Regions from separate parts of the Homo sapiens genome. Here regions 1, 2, 4, 5 and 6 are each linked to region 3. The links are contacts of gene promoters, found by promoter capture Hi-C in blood cells and fetal thymus (Javierre and others, 2016). All regions are on one chromosome and are shown on one strand. Each heading gives the region's core, a stretch centred on a gene start or on the middle of the fragment in contact. The rest is flanking DNA. Distances are from core to core; before and after follow the strand shown. Region 1 has its middle 7.3 kb from the start of DDX60. Region 2 overlaps DDX60 (DExD/H-box helicase 60). Region 3 holds the start of MSMO1 (methylsterol monooxygenase 1). Region 4 overlaps DDX60 (DExD/H-box helicase 60). Region 5 overlaps NAF1 (nuclear assembly factor 1 ribonucleoprotein). Region 6 holds the start of LOC105377517 (a long non-coding RNA gene).

Region 1 (2,700 bases), core at 172-2,671, 3.0 Mb before region 3:
GACTTTGGATCCAGTTGGACTTGTGCTTCTTTTTCAAGTCCTGTCATTACCCTGGGAGACATCATCACCTGTTTCTCTATTTATCCTACACCTTCACATATTGCTTAATGCTTGTTTTGTGACCTGTTCACATCTGTTGATCCTCACCTCTATTCATCTTCAGTCCTTCAGTTTCACAGCTGCACTTGGATGTGCTCTGCTTCCAAAATCCCAAATCAAAATGTATGTCAATTATCTATTGCTGGGTAAGAAATTACTACAAAACATAGTGACTTTAAACACTTGATCTTAGCCAAAGGCCGAGAAGTGATATAGTGGCTTAAAAAAATATGTACATATGAACTTAGTATATTTTTACCCAGAGCACTAAAGGTGACCCTAATTGATTTTAAATCCCTGAAACAAGGTGTCCTATATTCCAGGCCATCTATTGTCTGTAGATTTGCAAATCTTTGGATTCATTTCTAAGTGTACCAGTTTCTTCACACTTTAAATGTTCACACTTTTAAATGTTCATGCTTTAGGCTGGGCGAGGTGGCTCATGCCTGTAATCCCAGCAATTTGGGAGGCCGAGGCAGGCGGATCACCTGAGGTCAGGGGTTCCAGACCAGCCTGGCCAACAGGGAGAAACCCAGTCTCTACTAAAAATACAAAAATTAGCCGGGTGTGATGGCGGGTGTCTGTAATTCCAGCTACTCGGGAGGCTAAGGCAGGAGAATCGCTTGAACCTGGGAGGCGGAGATTGCAGTGAGCCGAGATCGTACCACTGCATTACAGCCTGGGTGATAGAGTGAGACTCCGTCTCAAAATGAAATAAAATTAAAATAAAATAAAATAAAATATTCACGCTTTAAAATGTTCATATCCTTTGACCTATTCTACTTTACTCTGAGGACATGTATAAAATCATATTCATCCTGTTATTTATAATAACTAATAATTGGAAACAACATAAATCTCTTAATTTGTGGGATGGCTAAGGAAATAAATGAAATTTTTAAATGGTCATAGGGACCATTTAAAGTGATATAGCACAGTAAAAACTCATTACTGAATGCTAATGGAAAGAAGAAGAAATTATTTATTTGCATTTACACTATTAAGGCATTATTTAAAAATGTAAGCATCTTTTCTATGGCTGAAGGCTTTAATGTTTTAAATTGTGTTGAAATAAAGGATAACATATTGACTAGTTGAAACAGTTTGATTTTCTACATTATTTTATTTATTTTTCTCCACTAAAGGGAAAAGGGTAATCTACCGAAATAATTGAACATTTAAAATGGCTTTAAGACTTATTTGACATAATTAAAAATGCACAGTGTTTTGTTTCTCTTAAAGTTTACATTATACATGCCTCATAGAGATATTTGTCAAAAGGGATATCCAACTTGCAAGCAAAGAGGTCACCGCTGGACAGCTATGGACTGCTGTGGGACAATTTCAGAAGCTGCTTACCCAAGAAGTCTAATGTGGAAAGACGTGGCTGTCACTCCCTGGGAAAACAAATAGGAAAGAATATGACAAAGGAGGAAATCAGCTGTTGAACCAAAGAAGGATTTAAGTATTTAAGAAATGCCAACCACTGAAGACAGTTGCTCTGCAACTTAAAATCCTGAGGTCTGTTGTGTATCTGTTGGCCAAGCAGTTTGTTCACGACTATTTGGGGAAAGAATTTCTATGGAACTGGCATATTCTTAGACCCCAATGTTTCCTCTCACTGACCAGTCAACTGGTGTTGAAAAAGCCTGTGGCAGATATATCACAGATGGAGTGTACTCATTTTAATTTTATACGTGCATCTGTGGTTTTGTTTGAATGTATTCTTAAATGAGGAAATGTTTCCTTTGTTTCTGTAAATAAATTGTTATTGACATAATCACTTTTTCATAGATACACATATGAATTTATTAATACCATAGGTTTATTTCTGATTTATAAATTTAATACTGAAGTTATGACTACACAATTCAAACCTAAACAAAATTAATAGAGAATGAACTCTCTTTGTAAAAAATAAAAATTGTTGGCATCCTAATTTTAAGAAAGCATGCAATTATCTGGGCTTTGTAGAAACCTATTGTAGCTGGAGAAATAAGTAGCATTGAATTTTCTTACAAAGCCACATGTCAGGTAAAGCTCTTGAAACAATCACATTGGAGTCAGAGAAAAATCAAAACTAAAACAATATGGTAACAGTGGGTAACAGCCCTATTTGCCGTGTTCTTAAACCTTGAAAGAATGAATGGCTCCTCACAAACTTAATGCTGTGGGCCCCTTTAAGGCTCTCATACATAATGCTCAAAAAAAAGTTACTGATTCTATCCAACCAGAAATTTGTTTTTTAAAAAAATCTGCTATAATAGATTTCACTAACATTTTCTGTTCGGTGTGTATTTCACCAGCCTCTTGACTGCAGTTTGGCTTCACTTCTGAAGGGACATAATACGCCTCTACCAGGCCATCCGTGGATATACCTCAGCAGCCTTCTGTTGCACACAGTCTTTGCAGACAAGATCTTAACTGCTTCTACCCTTCTCCAGAAGCACAGGTACGATACATTGATGATATCCTCCTCTGCAGAGATTCATTTGGGATACTCATTCAAGACATGCAAATACTCATAAAGGAGCTTTAAAAAGGCGATGGACCATTGGTTCATGCATAAGTATAAGACCCTGCCACCTTGGTTAAATTCCT
Region 2 (2,700 bases), core at 92-2,591, 2.9 Mb before region 3:
AGGTGGAAAAGTTTAATGAAACTTGCTCACATGTAAACAGACATATAGGGATGAATCATTGATGATATATTTCTGAAATAACGATGATGGGTGAATGTAAGATTGTGTTTGCAAATTTGGGGGATTGCAATAATATTACTCCTTTTATCTTTGTTGTTGGGATAAGGAAAATACATTTCTGCACTGCCAAGGATTTACAAAGCTCACCCATTTCACTTTCAAGTGTGGCTATAGACTGTAATTAGAAACAAAAGTAATTCTGTACCTCTGGGATATTTCTGAAAGCCTCACTGCAAAACAGAAACTGAAAAATATCTGTTTATTATTCATACCTTCATACAAATATAGGGGAGGCAAAATTTTACTTCTACCACCTTAGGCTTTTTTACCTGGGCCTCAGAATTAGACTGATATAAGACAAATCAATAGAAAAGCATGCACATGTATGTAGTATGTTTTATATGGTGCAGAAGGCTCCATAAGGAGTTGAAAACCCAACGATGCAGTTAGAGTTGGACACTTACATAGTGAATTGGACAAAGAGTGGTAAATTGTGAAAAATGTGACAAAGTAAAGGGGTGTAGGCTAGGGTAACTTGGGTGAAGATGTGACTAGGAAGGTAAGAGTTAGTTTAACAAGGTTTTTTAGTATAGATTTCCCTTGTCTTCAAGTTCCCATCTTTGAAGATAGGAGTGTTACTGTCCTTCGGGTATGAAAACATATTTTTGTGGGCATTTAATCTGCTACTTTTAAGAAAAAGAAAGAAGATCAGAGTGATCTTCTTGACCCTGCTGTTTTTTCTAGTGCTTTCAACTCAAAATAGTTAATATGCCAGAGTGGTATATTTTGGGAGTAGCATGTTCCAAAATCCTTCACATACTTAAAATATTTTAAAACTAAAATATTTCAGAAAACATCAAAAGTTTAATTATACTTGAAGAATTGAAGCTTGGCATGTTTATATGACTCTTGAATTCTCTACAAAATAAACTGTGAACATCCTTGGTATTACACAATTTGATCCCAGATCATCAAGAGATCTGAGGATTTTTCTGGGCTCAAGTTTTACCTCTAGGAGCTTTTCAAATAGTAGTGTACCCTTAAGCCTTTTGCAGTCTGATCTCTTAAAAAAAAAATACATGGAGCATATTCAGTGTTTGATGGCAATGGCAGTGTGTGCTTAAGGGCACACACTTCATGGCCAGACCCAAACTTGGATCCCACCTCTGCCCCCATGAATTGTGTTATTTCTGGACAGCTACTTAATGACTTTAAGCCTTAATTTACTTATTTGCAAAATGAGATGATCAGAATAATAGTACAAAGGATTGGAGTGAGAATTAAATAAACATAAGTTATGAAAGCACTTAGTACAGTGCTACAAAAATGTTATTGAATAAGGTCTAATCTCTAGGTCGCATTCATTCTTGTATACCAGGATGATCCCTTTTTGTCAGATCCAAACAGACTGGAGCTGAGAGAGCATGAAGGCGGGTTGTTCATGCTTGCATGGCTGAGATAAACTGTCTCAAGGACTTTCTAAAATAATCCCACAGGCAGTTCTTTATTTACTGCTGAAGCAATTCAGATAAGATGCCCTTGAAAGAACACCCACCCAGTAATGGCATCTCCACCGATAAATTGATGCCAGCTCTGGTTTTGCGTCTCCAAAACCAAAGAACTGTGTTTCTAAGCAGCTTATGTGAACTTCCCCTTTTGCCAGTACAAGCTTCCTTTTATCTTCCTCCCTTCAGATACATATGTGGCTTGCCATAGCTGTGCATCTTGGGTTATAATTCTCATTTCTAATTCCAAATATAGTCAACATATTTGGAGATATTTTTTCTTTGGTTTTGTTTTGGTTGACATAAAATGTAGGTTATCAGAGAGATTTAAGAGGCAACATTATTTCTAAGTGATCTTTGAACAAGAGTTTTTTAAAAATGAAGTGCTATGATGAAAGTGACACTATTTTAAAAAGTAATATATTCCTAGGCCCCAGTAACTTGCATTAATGTAAAAAGAGAAGCAACATATGTCAGTTAAAAACAGGATTTGAGAACAGGGGCCTGCAGGCCAGACTCTGCCACATATAAACTGTGGGCTCTTGGGCAGGTCACTGAATCTGGCAATAAGGATATTAATAGAAATATTAATATTAATAGTGCCTTCTTCATAGGATTGTTGTGAGTACTAAATGAGTTAACATACTGAAGTCACTGAGAATAATGCCTGACAACTGTGTATAATTTTTTTTTTTTGAAGGGCGATGGAGTTTTACTCTGTCGCCCAGGCTGGAGTTCAGTGGTGCAATCTCAGCTCACTGCAACCTCCACCTCCCAGGTTCAAGCAATTCTCCTGCCTCAGTCTCCCAAGCTGGGATTACAGGCATGTGCCACCACGCCCAGCTCATTTTTGAATTCTGTGTCACTGTGTTGTCCAGGCTGGTCTCGAACTCCTGACTTCAGGTGATCTGCCCACCTCGGCCTCCCAAAGTGCTGAGATTACAGGCATGAGCCACCATGCCCGGCCAACTGTGTATAACTTGAATTTTACTATTACCATTATTTTATTGTCTACTATATGAAATTTCTTGCCATGTGGCATAGACTCTCAGTTTTAAAATTCTTACTTCACCAGTGTGCCAGTTTATTTACTGTTTAGTAGCTAAACACATTTCCTTTTGATGTTAGCTCTATA
Region 3 (2,700 bases), core at 182-2,681:
CTATTTTCTGTTTTAAAAATATGCTGACATCCATCATCTCTATCTCTAGCCCTCTCCCCTAAACTCCAGGATCTAATTATCCAAGTTTACTGGTCATATCCAGTCAGAGAGTTCAGAGGCACATGAACTCACTCAACAGGTCCAAAGGTTCAGTATGTGCTCCTCACAACCCCCGCCCAAATACTAGGCCTCCTTTAATGCCTAATTCTCAGACATAACGTTTTAAGTCTCTCCCATTCTGCTGCCTTAAGTCTTCAAACTCTTACCCAATTTAGAAACACTTGGTTTAGTTAACATTCAGGAATTTACTTTTCACAAAGGAGCGAGGGAATGGATATACTGTTGCTAACCGAACAAGGAATTAAAGAGGAGAGGGGAAACAAGGTCTTGGAAAATTGAATTTCCTTTTCCTTTACTCATTCTTGGGCAACCTAAATGACTGGAAGCCTGTTCTGGAACAGGTTGACTAGATAAATTTAGTTATTTGTGGATTCTCAGAAACCTTGAAGTTTAGCTGTCAGCCAGTCTCTGTCCTTTGGCACTTTAACACGGATTTCACCAGCTCCTTCATTTTCTGGACTTGCCCTGCCTCCAAGCTTGCCCTTCCTAAACCTTATTTCTAAGATGCAATGCCACGATCTATATAAATTTAAACATCAGAGATAACCTCCTTAAAACACTCAAAGTTCAAGGGAGTGCTTGCCCTAAGCATAAAGATCAAGCCCCGCTGTGATTGATGCACACGAGGCCCTTCCAGACTTCTTCACTCTTCATTTCTTACATTCTCGCCATCCTACACTTCACATTTTTGCAGTATCTGATCACTCATGGTTGCTACTGCTTCATTCCTCTCTGCCCACGGAAATATCGTTCCCTTACAGGTGATGTCCTCCCATTCAACTCCTAGTCATCCTTCAGTAACCTCCTCTCGGACGCCCTTCCCAACCCCACTACTCCCAAAGCACACTACATCTTACCTCCTTCTAGTGGTTCCTGCTTTTGTATAACTTTCGCCAGCCTATCACCCTGTGCTGCAACTATCTTCTACGTCCTGTCTCCCGAAGACAACACATTTTAAAGGGCAAGAAACATGCCCTAGCCTAGTTCCATCACTTAAGAATTTCACTCCGTTTTCATCCTTTCTAGCACGTACCTTAGCCTAGGCCCACCTTCACTCCAGTCTCCTTCCGCCCCGTCTCGGGTACCACTGCCAGCGTCCCGCCCAGCGCGTGCATCCGCACCCAGAACCCGCTCCCCTCGATCTCACGGAGCACCGGGTGGGAGCCCGCCTGCTCCCCCTTCCTCGCTCATGAGCCACTCCTCCAACCCCCTCACCTGAACGGCCGCGAGATGACTGCCGGCCACCGACACCGAGGACTCGCCAGGTGTTCCAACCTCGGAACCTGCCTCGCCTGGCTTGGGGGTGGAGCCGGGTGGGCCAGGCGGCCCGTCCTGTCGTTATTGGCCTGCGAGAGCTCCCGCCCCGCCTTCTCGGCGCGGTGATTGGTCTGTGCAGTTGCCGACATCGTGTGACTCGCGCGAACGAGCTCCTGGCGGTCCCAGCCATTGGCTCCGCGGATGGAGTGAGGATAGTGAGACCTGCAGAGCCAGCCAATGGTCGGCACCGCGGAGCGCCCGGAGGCGGGGAAGCGTGAGAGCGCGCCACGGCGTGAGGGGGCGGGCACAGACGGATGGCCGCCTCGCCCTGCAGCGCGGAGTCGCCTTGGCAACTGCGGTCCCGGCAGATTCCCAGTGAGAGCCTGCGCTGTGCGGGGGAGAGTGTCGCGCCGGCCGCCGTCCCAGGACTTTTATTTCAAATGTGACCTGTGTAGCAACCGCAGTTCCCAAACCCGGGAAGAAGAGAGTATAGATGAGTCTTAAAATCTATGTTGACTGTTTTGTGTTTCCAGACACCCTTGCCTTCCTTTTTCTGGTCTACCATTTAGATTTAGATCTTTCGTCTCCCTTGTTTCCCCAGCCTACGTATCCTTTAATAAATTCCTGCATTTTGAAAACGGAGAATTTCAAATGCGATTATCGTCATTTTGCAGATGAGAAATAAAGGCTGGGAAAGATTTAAAAAGATTGAACATCAAGGGAGAGTTCGGCTCCCAGGACCTTGACCTCGCTACATGGGCAGAGAACGCCCAGGTGTTGTTGCAATTGTTGTGCTGGACGATGAGTGCCCGGGGGCGGGGGCGGGGGCGGGGGCTTGACGCAGGTCTTTGCAGCTCTAAAGCTCAGTTTACACCATCTCTCAACATTAAAATATTGTGTACTGGGGTTTAATAATAAAACTGTACAGATGTGATAATATACTAAAACTTTCACTTAACGGAAGAGGTGCCTTTAAAGAAAAAACCGCACAGGGGCATCATTTGGGCTAGTGAAGGCCCTTTTTCCTCCTTCTTTATTAAGGTATAATTGACAAAAATTGTGTTTACGGCGTACACATGTTTTGATTATGTGTATATTGTGTCAAATATATACAGCTTCTGAAAACAGAATACTATTGTTTCATTCCTCCATGCTTTTGCTCAAACTGGCCCTTCTGCCTGGAATAATCAGCCATCTCCATGCCGCCCCATCAATTCAGGTACTATCTCCTTGAGGAAGTTCCCTCTTGAAAAGTGTCTTTTTTAGATTCAGTGTGACCTGTACTTATTCGTCTATCCCTCATGTTTGGCACACACATTCTTT
Region 4 (2,700 bases), core at 72-2,571, 3.0 Mb before region 3:
AGGCTGGAGTGCAGTGATGTGATCACAGCTCACTGCAGCTTCCACGTCTCGGGCTCAAGTGATCCTGCCGCCTCAGCCTGTCGAGTGGCTGGGATTACAGGTGCGCACCACCATGCCTAGCTAATTTTTGTATTTTTTGTAGAGACAAGGTTTTGCCATGTTGCCCAGGCTGGTCTCAAGCTCTGGGGCTCAACCAATCTGACTGCCTCAGCCTCCCAAAATGCTGAGATTACAAGTGTGAATCACTGTGCCTGGCCTTTCTTTCTTTTTATCATTATTCTGTCAGCTTTTTTTCTGTTAAAATATGTACTTTTTAAGCTTTTTTCTTAAAAGAAAAAAAGATGCAAACACACACATTAGCCTAGGCATACACAGGGTCAGGATCATCAACATCAACTGTCTTCCACCTCCAGATCTTGTCCCACTGGAAAGTCTTCAGGGGCAGTAACACACATGGAGCTGTCATCTTCTATGATAACAATGCCTTCTTCTGGAATAGCTCCTTAAGGGCCTCCTGAGGCTGTTTGGCAGCTGTTTTAAAAATACAAGTGAAAAGAGTATACTCTGAAATAATAATAAAAAATTCGCATAGTACAGTAAGTCATAAGTCAGTAGCAGTCATTTTTATCATGATCAAGTATTATATACTGTACATAATTGTATATGCTGTACTTTTTTTATTGTTGTTTTTTTGGAGACAGAGCCTTGCTCTGTTGCCCAGGCTGGAGTGCTGTGGTGCGATCTCAGCTCACCACAACCTCTGCCTCCTGGGTTTGAGCGATTCTCCTGCCTCAGCCTCCCAAGTAGCTGAGACTACAGGCATGCACCACCATGCTGGGCCAATTTTTGTGTTTTTAGTAGAGACGGGGTTTCACTATGTTGGCCAGTCTGGTCTCGAACTCCTGACCTCATGATCTGCCCGTCTTGGCCTCCCAAAGTGCTGGGATTACAGACGTGAGCCACCACGCCCAGCCTATGCTGTACTTTTATATGCCTGGCAGCACAGTAAGTGTGTTTACACCAGCCTCATGAACACTTGAGTAGTGCATTGCACTGTGGTGTTATGACATCACTATGACATCACTAGGCAGTAGAAATTTTTCAGCTCCATTATAATCTTATGGGATCACCAACATATAAGTGGTCTGTGGCTGAAAGAAACATTGTTATGTGGCTCTTGACTATTATTAAACTATTTTCAATTCTGGTTGCCTACTCTGAGCAGGAATAGCCCTGGGATTCATTTTTATATTGGAAGGAAGTACTGTTATTAATTTTCTCATTTTACTCTGTTAGAGCAATTTCTAAATCTGAGTTTTAACAGTACCTACACACTGTCGAATCTTTCCTTAAGAGTATTTTTTTTTTTTTTTGGAGACAGAGTCTCGCTCTGTCGCCCAGGCTGGAGTGCAGTGGTGTGATCTCAGCTCACTGCAAGCTCCGCCTCCCGGGTTCTCGCCATTCTCCTACCTCAGCCTCCTGAGCAGCTGGGACTACAGGCACCTGCCACCATGCCCGGCTAATTTTTTGCATTTTTAGTAGAGATGGGGTTTCACCGTGTTAGCCAGGATGGTCTCGATCTCCTGACCTCGTGATCTGCCTGCCTCTGCCTCCCAAAGTGCTAGGATTACAGGTGTGAGCCACCGAGCCCGGCTGAATAATTTTTTTAATGAAGGATTTTATTTTTGTTAAAATCTATTTCCTAATTTGTTGAATATTCACCTTAAAGAAGTTATGTTATTAGTCAATTTGAGGATTATGTGAAATACAATTGAAAATACAATGCATATTTAAAATGGCTGCTGCTGGGTGATAGGTACCTGAAAGGGGGGTTATGCTATCTTTCATTCATGTGTATGTTTGAAATTTGTTAAAATATATGGCATTAAATGGGGATGACGGTGTTTTGGAGGGTGCTGGAAGTGTTCTAAAATTAGATTGTGATATTGGTTCCAAAGTTGATAAATTTACTAACAGCCATTGAATTGTAACAAAATGAAGGAATTTTATGTTATGTTAATTATACTTTTATGAAGCTGTTAAAAAACAAAATACGCTATATTCCTAGGCAAAAATTAACTTTCAAAGACAAAATAGTGATGTTCAATGGGGTTTAAAACTTACAATTACATTGGCATATTTTTTTCCTTAGAAATATATCGTAACATAATTATATCTAAAATATGTAATTTTCTATAGTTGGAAAATAATTACATATTTTATTTATAACAACTTTTCTGATTTTTCTTTATTTTACAGAATAAGCAGAACATTAAAGATGCTTATACAACCCTGCTTAACCAGTTGGAAAGATTTAAGCTTTCAGCATTAGCACCTCTTTTTGGAAGTTTAAAATGGAATAATATTACGGAAGAGGTAACAAAACATTTTAAAAAGCTTTGTATTTGAACTAAGTTTTTAGTTATAGAAAAGTTGCAAAAATCATACAGAGTTCTCATGTACTTCTCATCCAGCTTCTCCTAATGTTAACATCTTAAATAACCACGGAACATTTATGAAAACCAGGAAATTAACATTGTGTCAATCCTATTAACTAAACTTTAGACCTTATTCCAATTACACTGACTTTTCCACTCATGTCTCTTTGCTATTTCAGGATCCAGTCCAGGATACCACATCCATTCAGTTGTCAGTCACACTTTTGAGTGTCCCCCAGTCTGTAACAGTTTCTCAGTCTTT
Region 5 (2,700 bases), core at 61-2,560, 2.2 Mb after region 3:
ACCTCTACCTTCAATTTTTTTAGTTTATTAGTATGCCTTTTACATCTAATTCTTTGTATCTTCTGTGCACTGCCAGAGTGGTAATGTCCCACAGTATGTTTTCTGGCCGTATTTTCCCCTTTATTGGAGTGTGTCTGTGTTTCTCTTCTCTGTCACACATATACACCCTTCCCTGAAACGTGGAAAAGCAAAGTGATTGATTTTTATTTCCTTAAAGGAGATTTTATATCTGAGGAGATTTATTCATTATCTTAGGAGGGGCAGCAGGTGTGTTTTCAGGGAGCCAAGTGTTAATCTAATAATTGTAATAATGTTTGCTACTGCAACCCAGAGGTACCTATGCATCAATCCTAGGCAGTTAAGCTTCCTTGGAAGCCTGGCTTTTAAATTTTATTTTTGAGAAGATTAGGTTCAAGTCTTTTTCATTCTTTGAGGATTCTATATCGGGTTATATTTTCATTATCTGATTTCTGCTCAGACAAAGACTGACTTTTGAGATTTTTGCTAAGCTTGGACTGAAGAGGTAGGTTAGTTCATCTAATAGATATATATTAATACTAAATACCTACTATGTGCTAGCCATCTTTTTGGGTGCTATAGCAATGAGCAAGACTGGGTCCTCGTTATGATTGGGACTAAAAAGGTCTTAGTTATGGTTGGATTTATTGTGTAGTTAGAGAAATAGACATTAAGTAAATACAGAAATATTGGACAACAATGTGTTTAGAAAAAAGCAAAGCAGCAGGATAGTTTGATAAAGAATGACTAGGCTTGGTAGTGATACAGTAGATTAAATTTGCTAGTTGAAAAAGAGATGGTGACATTTGGCATTCATACATCAAAACAAAAATCTTATATTACCTTGTCTGACATGGCTGCCAAAGGAAATCGCTTTTTGTACCTTTCAGAGATCTATCCCCTTTGAACCTTCTAAAGTTCTCTCTGAACCTGCCAAAAATTTTCATGGAAAGCACATCTCTTGGGTGCCTTCCTGTTGGCGTTTGAGTTATTTTTCCTCTTTGTTCTCCTCTCTCGCTCTGTTTTTTTTTTTTTGTTTTTGTTTTGTTTTCTGAGATGGAGTCTTTTGCTCTGTCGCCCAGGCTGGAGTGCAATGGTGCGATCTCTGCTCACTGCAACCTCCATCTCCCAGGTTCAAGTGATTCTCCTGCCTCAGCCTCCTGAGTAGCTGGGATTACAGGTGCCTGCCACCATGCCTGGCTAATTTTTGTATTTTTAGTAGAGATGGGATTTCATCATGTTGGCCAGGCTGGTCTCAGACTCCTGACCTCAGGATCCGCCTGCCTTGGCCTCCCAAAGTGCTGGGATTACAGGCATGAGCCACCATTCCTGGCCTGTCCTCCTCTCTTAGCATGCTCATTTAAAAGAAACAAATAGATCTGTTTTCCCTTAATTCAGACCTCCACATATGTGCCTTTTTCAAAATTAATATATACTGCTTCATTTAACTGTACTTTCAAAGGCAGACTCTATAACAGGATCTTAACCTGGAATTATACAAGGATGGTTTCACTTACCTCTTACATATTTTGTATATACTATTTAGTTTTTATATACCTTTTATGTTTTGTGGAGTATTTGGGGCGAGACTTCATGTGCATCACTTTTATAGGTAGAGTTGTTACTATCAAGAGGCAACTTAATGCCATCACTGGCCTTTTTTAGGAATGCACAGGAAACTGTACGTTCCTATATTACAGAGTACTAGTGTGTCCGGAATTGGTAGGTTCTTGGTCTCACTGACTTCAAGAATGAAGCCGCAGACCTTCGCGGTGAGTGTTACAGCTCTTAAGGTGGTGCGTCTGGAGTTTGTTCCTTCTGATGTTCAGATGTGTTCGGAGTTTCTTCCTTCTGGTGGGTTCGTGGTCTTGCTGGCTCAGGAGTGAAGCTGCAGACCTTCGCGGTGAGTGTTACAGCTCTTAAGGCGGCATGTCTGGAGTTGTTTGTTCCTCCCAGTGGGCTCGTGGTCTCGCTGGCTTCAGGAGTGAAGCTGCAGATCTTCGCGGTGAGTGTTATGGCTCATAAAAGCAGTGTGGACCCAAAGAGTGAGCAGTAGCAAGATTTATTGCAAAGAGCGAAAGAACAAAGCTTCCACGGTGTGGAAGGGGACCCGAGCGGGTTGCCAATGCTGGCTGGGGCAGCCTGCTTTTATTCTCTTATCTGGCCCCACCCACATCCTGCTGATTGGTAGAGCCGAGTGGCCTGTTTTGTCAGGGCGCTGATTGGTGGGTTTACAATCCCTGAGCTAGATACAAAGGTTCTCCATGTCCCCATCAGATTAGTTAGATACAGAGTTTTGACACACCAGTTCTCCAAGGCCCCACCAGAGCAGCTAGATACAGAGTGTCGATTGGTGCATTCACAAACCTTGAGCTAAACACAGGGTGCTGATTGGTGTGTTTACAAACCTTGAGCTAGATACAGAGTGCCGATTGGTGTATTTACAATCCCTGAGCTAGACATAAAGGTTCTCCAAGGCCCCACCAGAGCAGCTAGATACAGAGTGTCGATTGGTGCACTTACAAACCTTGAGCTAAACACAGGGTGCTGATTGGCGTGTTTACAATCCCAGAGCTAGATATAGAGACTCTCCACATCCCCACCAGACTCAGGAGCCCAGCTGGCTTCACCCAGTGGATCCCGCACTGCACCGGGGCTGCAGGTGGAGCTGCCTGCCAGTCC
Region 6 (2,700 bases), core at 134-2,633, 2.2 Mb after region 3:
ATTCCCAGCACCCCGAAGACACTGGGAGATTGACTAAGTCCTCCCCAGCAAGCCTCTCCTTTGAGTCTTCAAGAGCAGCAACTTGCCCTGGTGGCTCCTTAATCAGCTGTCAAATGCCTGGGTTTTTGATAGTTGAGAGAATAAAAACTGAGGATGAGAAGCCTCGGAAATTAAAGTATAGAGTCCGCTCCTATACTCATCCTGCCGATAAATTTACCTTCAAATCCCGGATGGGTCCCCAAGTATAAAATGGCCTCATCGTCTGGGGTAAATACCAAGGTTCTTGGTCTCACAGCTGAGGAAATCAAGAACATGAACACATAACCACAGAGAGTGAGACTGGAGCAGGAGTTTATTCGGCAAAAGAAAAGAACAGCTCTCGGTCACGGAGAGGGGTCCCAAACAGGTTGCCAAGTTGTAGTAAAAAATGTCAGTTTTTTATAAATGGGCTAGTAAGGAGGGTGTGACTTATCTTCCTAGGGCCCGAACAAATGGTTAGGACCAGGTGTGCTATCTGCATAGAGCAGGGTCTCTATCAGCCCCCACCCCATTCTTTGATCATGTGGGTACACTCTTAGTTTATGCTGCTCTGTGCTGTTTGTGTGTGCTAAAAGGGAGGGAAGAGTGTCTGTGCCTATTCCCAGGCACCTTCTTGCAGCTGCAGGTATCTCACCTGTGCCTACTTCCAGCTTCCCTGTCTTAGTATGCCTAAAGAAAGAGAAAGAGATATGCTTATGAAGGCCCACTGTTTTTACTGGGACCCATTGTATGTATGTGAAGTTTGGTGATTACCCAGGAAACTCCCCACTCTGTGCCTTAGTTGCTTATATGTGTTTTACAGCCTGAGCGTCCAGGCTGCTCTTTGTTAGAAAGGAAGTGATTTCTTTGAACTGATTGAGGTTAAAAAGGGAGCTATTTCTGAGCTGCTTTTTGTTAGAAGGAAAGTTTTCTGCCTGGGACTCACCCTAACTCTCTACCTAAATAATTTCTATCTCCTATAACACAAAGATACTGGACCAAGTATGCTCAGTTCCTTTTCCCAAGATCACCAGTCAGATGTCACTCTCTTATCTGATAAGTCACTCTCTTACAAGCTGAGTGTGAGAGGAGACTAGGTGGCAAGAGATGCCTAGTCTCTAATCTATAATTTCTGTCCATACTCTCAAATGAGTCCAGTAGAGTTTCAGTCCATTTTGAGTTAAAATAGCACTTATACCTCTCTTTTCCCTACTACACTAGTTGGCAATGCAAACATATGACCTTGACTTAAATTAGTGCTACAATATATAAATAGGAATAGCAACTCACCCAAACAGTCACATAACCTGCTTTTAATCATTTTGTGATATATATTAGAAAATCTCATCATTTTTATCTAGCAAGTGCATTGTAGGTTTCTGGAAATGTAAATGTGTCTATTCATGTATTTTTAAACATTGAAATAGACTAAGATCAATCAGTGACATTTATAGAAATAATTTAAGTTTTACGTGCTCCCTTTGAAATGTAATATGCCATTTAAATTGTAATTTAATTCAAGGTAAATTCTCTCATAACGTTAATAGTGACCCTGTAAGCTACACAGTCTTCCAAGGTGTTTTTTTGGATTTAGTCTTAGGTTAAAGACTTCAGGCTAAGTTTAGCAACTGTTAGAAATAATGCGGTTGAGAGGAAGGCTGTGGAAGTAGGTAAATTCAGGACATTCTGAAACAAGCACTTAGAAAAATTACCATTTGTGAAACACTGACCTACTTCAAAGCTAGGCATAGGTACCACTATCATTATGTTGAAACACAGAAACATTTCCACCACACAAACAAAAGACTTTTATTTAAAAACAGTAGCCTTTCTTAGATATCATCAGATTAATTTAAATTGAAAGAATAACAGATATTATCTGTTAAGTCATATTCCTTACTCTGATTGTCCCATTGAGCTTTATTCTTTCTTTCTTTCATTCATCCATTCAAAAATCCTTATAGGATTTATTCTGTTTCCAGGCACTTAGAGAAACAGCTGTGAATTAGACAAAGATCCTGGGCACCTGAGACTTAATTTTATGAAAAAACAGACAATAAAGAAGTAAATAAATATAATTTCATGTGAAGATAAATACTATTTAAATAAAAACAGTGAGCTATAAGCTAGGAAGTGATTGGTATTGAGGGGTGCACTTAGATTGGGTGGTCTGGAAAGCTCTCTCTTAGGTGTAGTGTTTGAGTAGAACCATAAATGAGTAAAAAGGCCACGTTAATATGAAGAGAAGAGAGAACAGAAAAGTGAAAATGTCACACGTGAAGAATTAACTTGGTGAGTTGAAGGGAGATCAAGACCAGTGCTCATGTGAAACAAGGGTGGGGAAGACGGTAGGAGATAGAAACTGGAGAGGTAAGTAGTGGCCAGATCAGGTAGACTGTTGAAAGCCAAAGCAGGGAGTCTGAATTTTATTCTAAGTGTGCTTACAAATATTTAGAGTTTATAAATAATTAAGCAGGAAATTACAATGATCTTATTTATTATCCCCTGTGAAGGTCTCCTGTTTTCTCAGATTAACAAATTCATGGTTCTCTTTAAAAGTCCAGCTCAAGTATCACACGCATTGTAAAGCCTTTTGTCATTGTCAGTGAGGCAGTGGTTGGGTGGTCCTGTTTAACCAGCTTTCCTAGAGGTGACTTCTCCCATTCAGTTCTATTCAAGTCA

The links. Contacts are between HindIII fragments. The CHiCAGO score rates a contact against its expected background, and 5 or more counts as called.
Region 1: a fragment that was not itself captured here is called in contact with the fragment with the promoter of MSMO1 in region 3 in 2 of 17 cell types (total CD4 T cells and activated CD4 T cells); the score reaches 8.2 in total CD4 T cells.
Region 2: a contact is called between a fragment that was not itself captured here and the fragment with the promoter of MSMO1 in region 3, in 1 of 17 cell types (erythroblasts). The highest score is 9.3, in erythroblasts.
Region 4: a contact is called between a fragment that was not itself captured here and the fragment with the promoter of MSMO1 in region 3, in 2 of 17 cell types (total CD8 T cells and naive CD8 T cells). The highest score is 12.0, in total CD8 T cells.
Region 5: a contact is called between a fragment that was not itself captured here and the fragment with the promoter of MSMO1 in region 3, in 1 of 17 cell types (total B cells). The highest score is 6.3, in total B cells.
Region 6: a contact is called between a fragment that was not itself captured here and the fragment with the promoter of MSMO1 in region 3, in 10 of 17 cell types (non-activated CD4 T cells, total CD4 T cells, total CD8 T cells and 7 more). The highest score is 23.3, in non-activated CD4 T cells.

The regions. Positions count from the first base shown.
Region 1 is chr4:168,324,690-168,327,389 of GRCh38, reverse strand. It overlaps a transcript of DDX60 not described here. Among named protein-coding and RNA genes, the nearest start is that of DDX60, 7.3 kb to the right of the region's middle. The HindIII fragment of the contact is 9,534 bases long and covers 1-2,700 here.
Region 2 is chr4:168,256,875-168,259,574 of GRCh38, reverse strand. All of the region lies in intron 25 of DDX60 (DExD/H-box helicase 60), which reads left to right. Among named protein-coding and RNA genes, the nearest start is that of DDX60, 61 kb to the left of the region's middle. The HindIII fragment of the contact is 781 bases long and covers 951-1,731 here.
Region 3 is chr4:165,326,400-165,329,099 of GRCh38, reverse strand. It overlaps MSMO1 (methylsterol monooxygenase 1), which reads right to left and starts at 1,431. Exons shown (of 6, transcript NM_006745.5): 1 at 1,336-1,431. RefSeq lists an enhancer at 1,133-1,402 and a silencer at 1,493-1,832. The HindIII fragment of the contact is 2,277 bases long and covers 599-2,700 here.
Region 4 is chr4:168,301,976-168,304,675 of GRCh38, reverse strand. It overlaps DDX60 (DExD/H-box helicase 60), which reads left to right. Exons shown (of 38, transcript NM_017631.6): 6 at 2,260-2,376. Among named protein-coding and RNA genes, the nearest start is that of DDX60, 15 kb to the left of the region's middle. The HindIII fragment of the contact is 2,001 bases long and covers 321-2,321 here.
Region 5 is chr4:163,153,244-163,155,943 of GRCh38, reverse strand. The region is part of intron 2 of NAF1 (nuclear assembly factor 1 ribonucleoprotein); the gene reads left to right. Among named protein-coding and RNA genes, the nearest start is that of NAF1, 12 kb to the left of the region's middle. The HindIII fragment of the contact is 1,597 bases long and covers 512-2,108 here.
Region 6 is chr4:163,169,876-163,172,575 of GRCh38, reverse strand. LOC105377517 (a long non-coding RNA gene) reads right to left here and starts at 300. Exons shown (of 3, transcript XR_939414.2): 1 at 218-300. The HindIII fragment of the contact is 3,131 bases long and covers 1-2,700 here.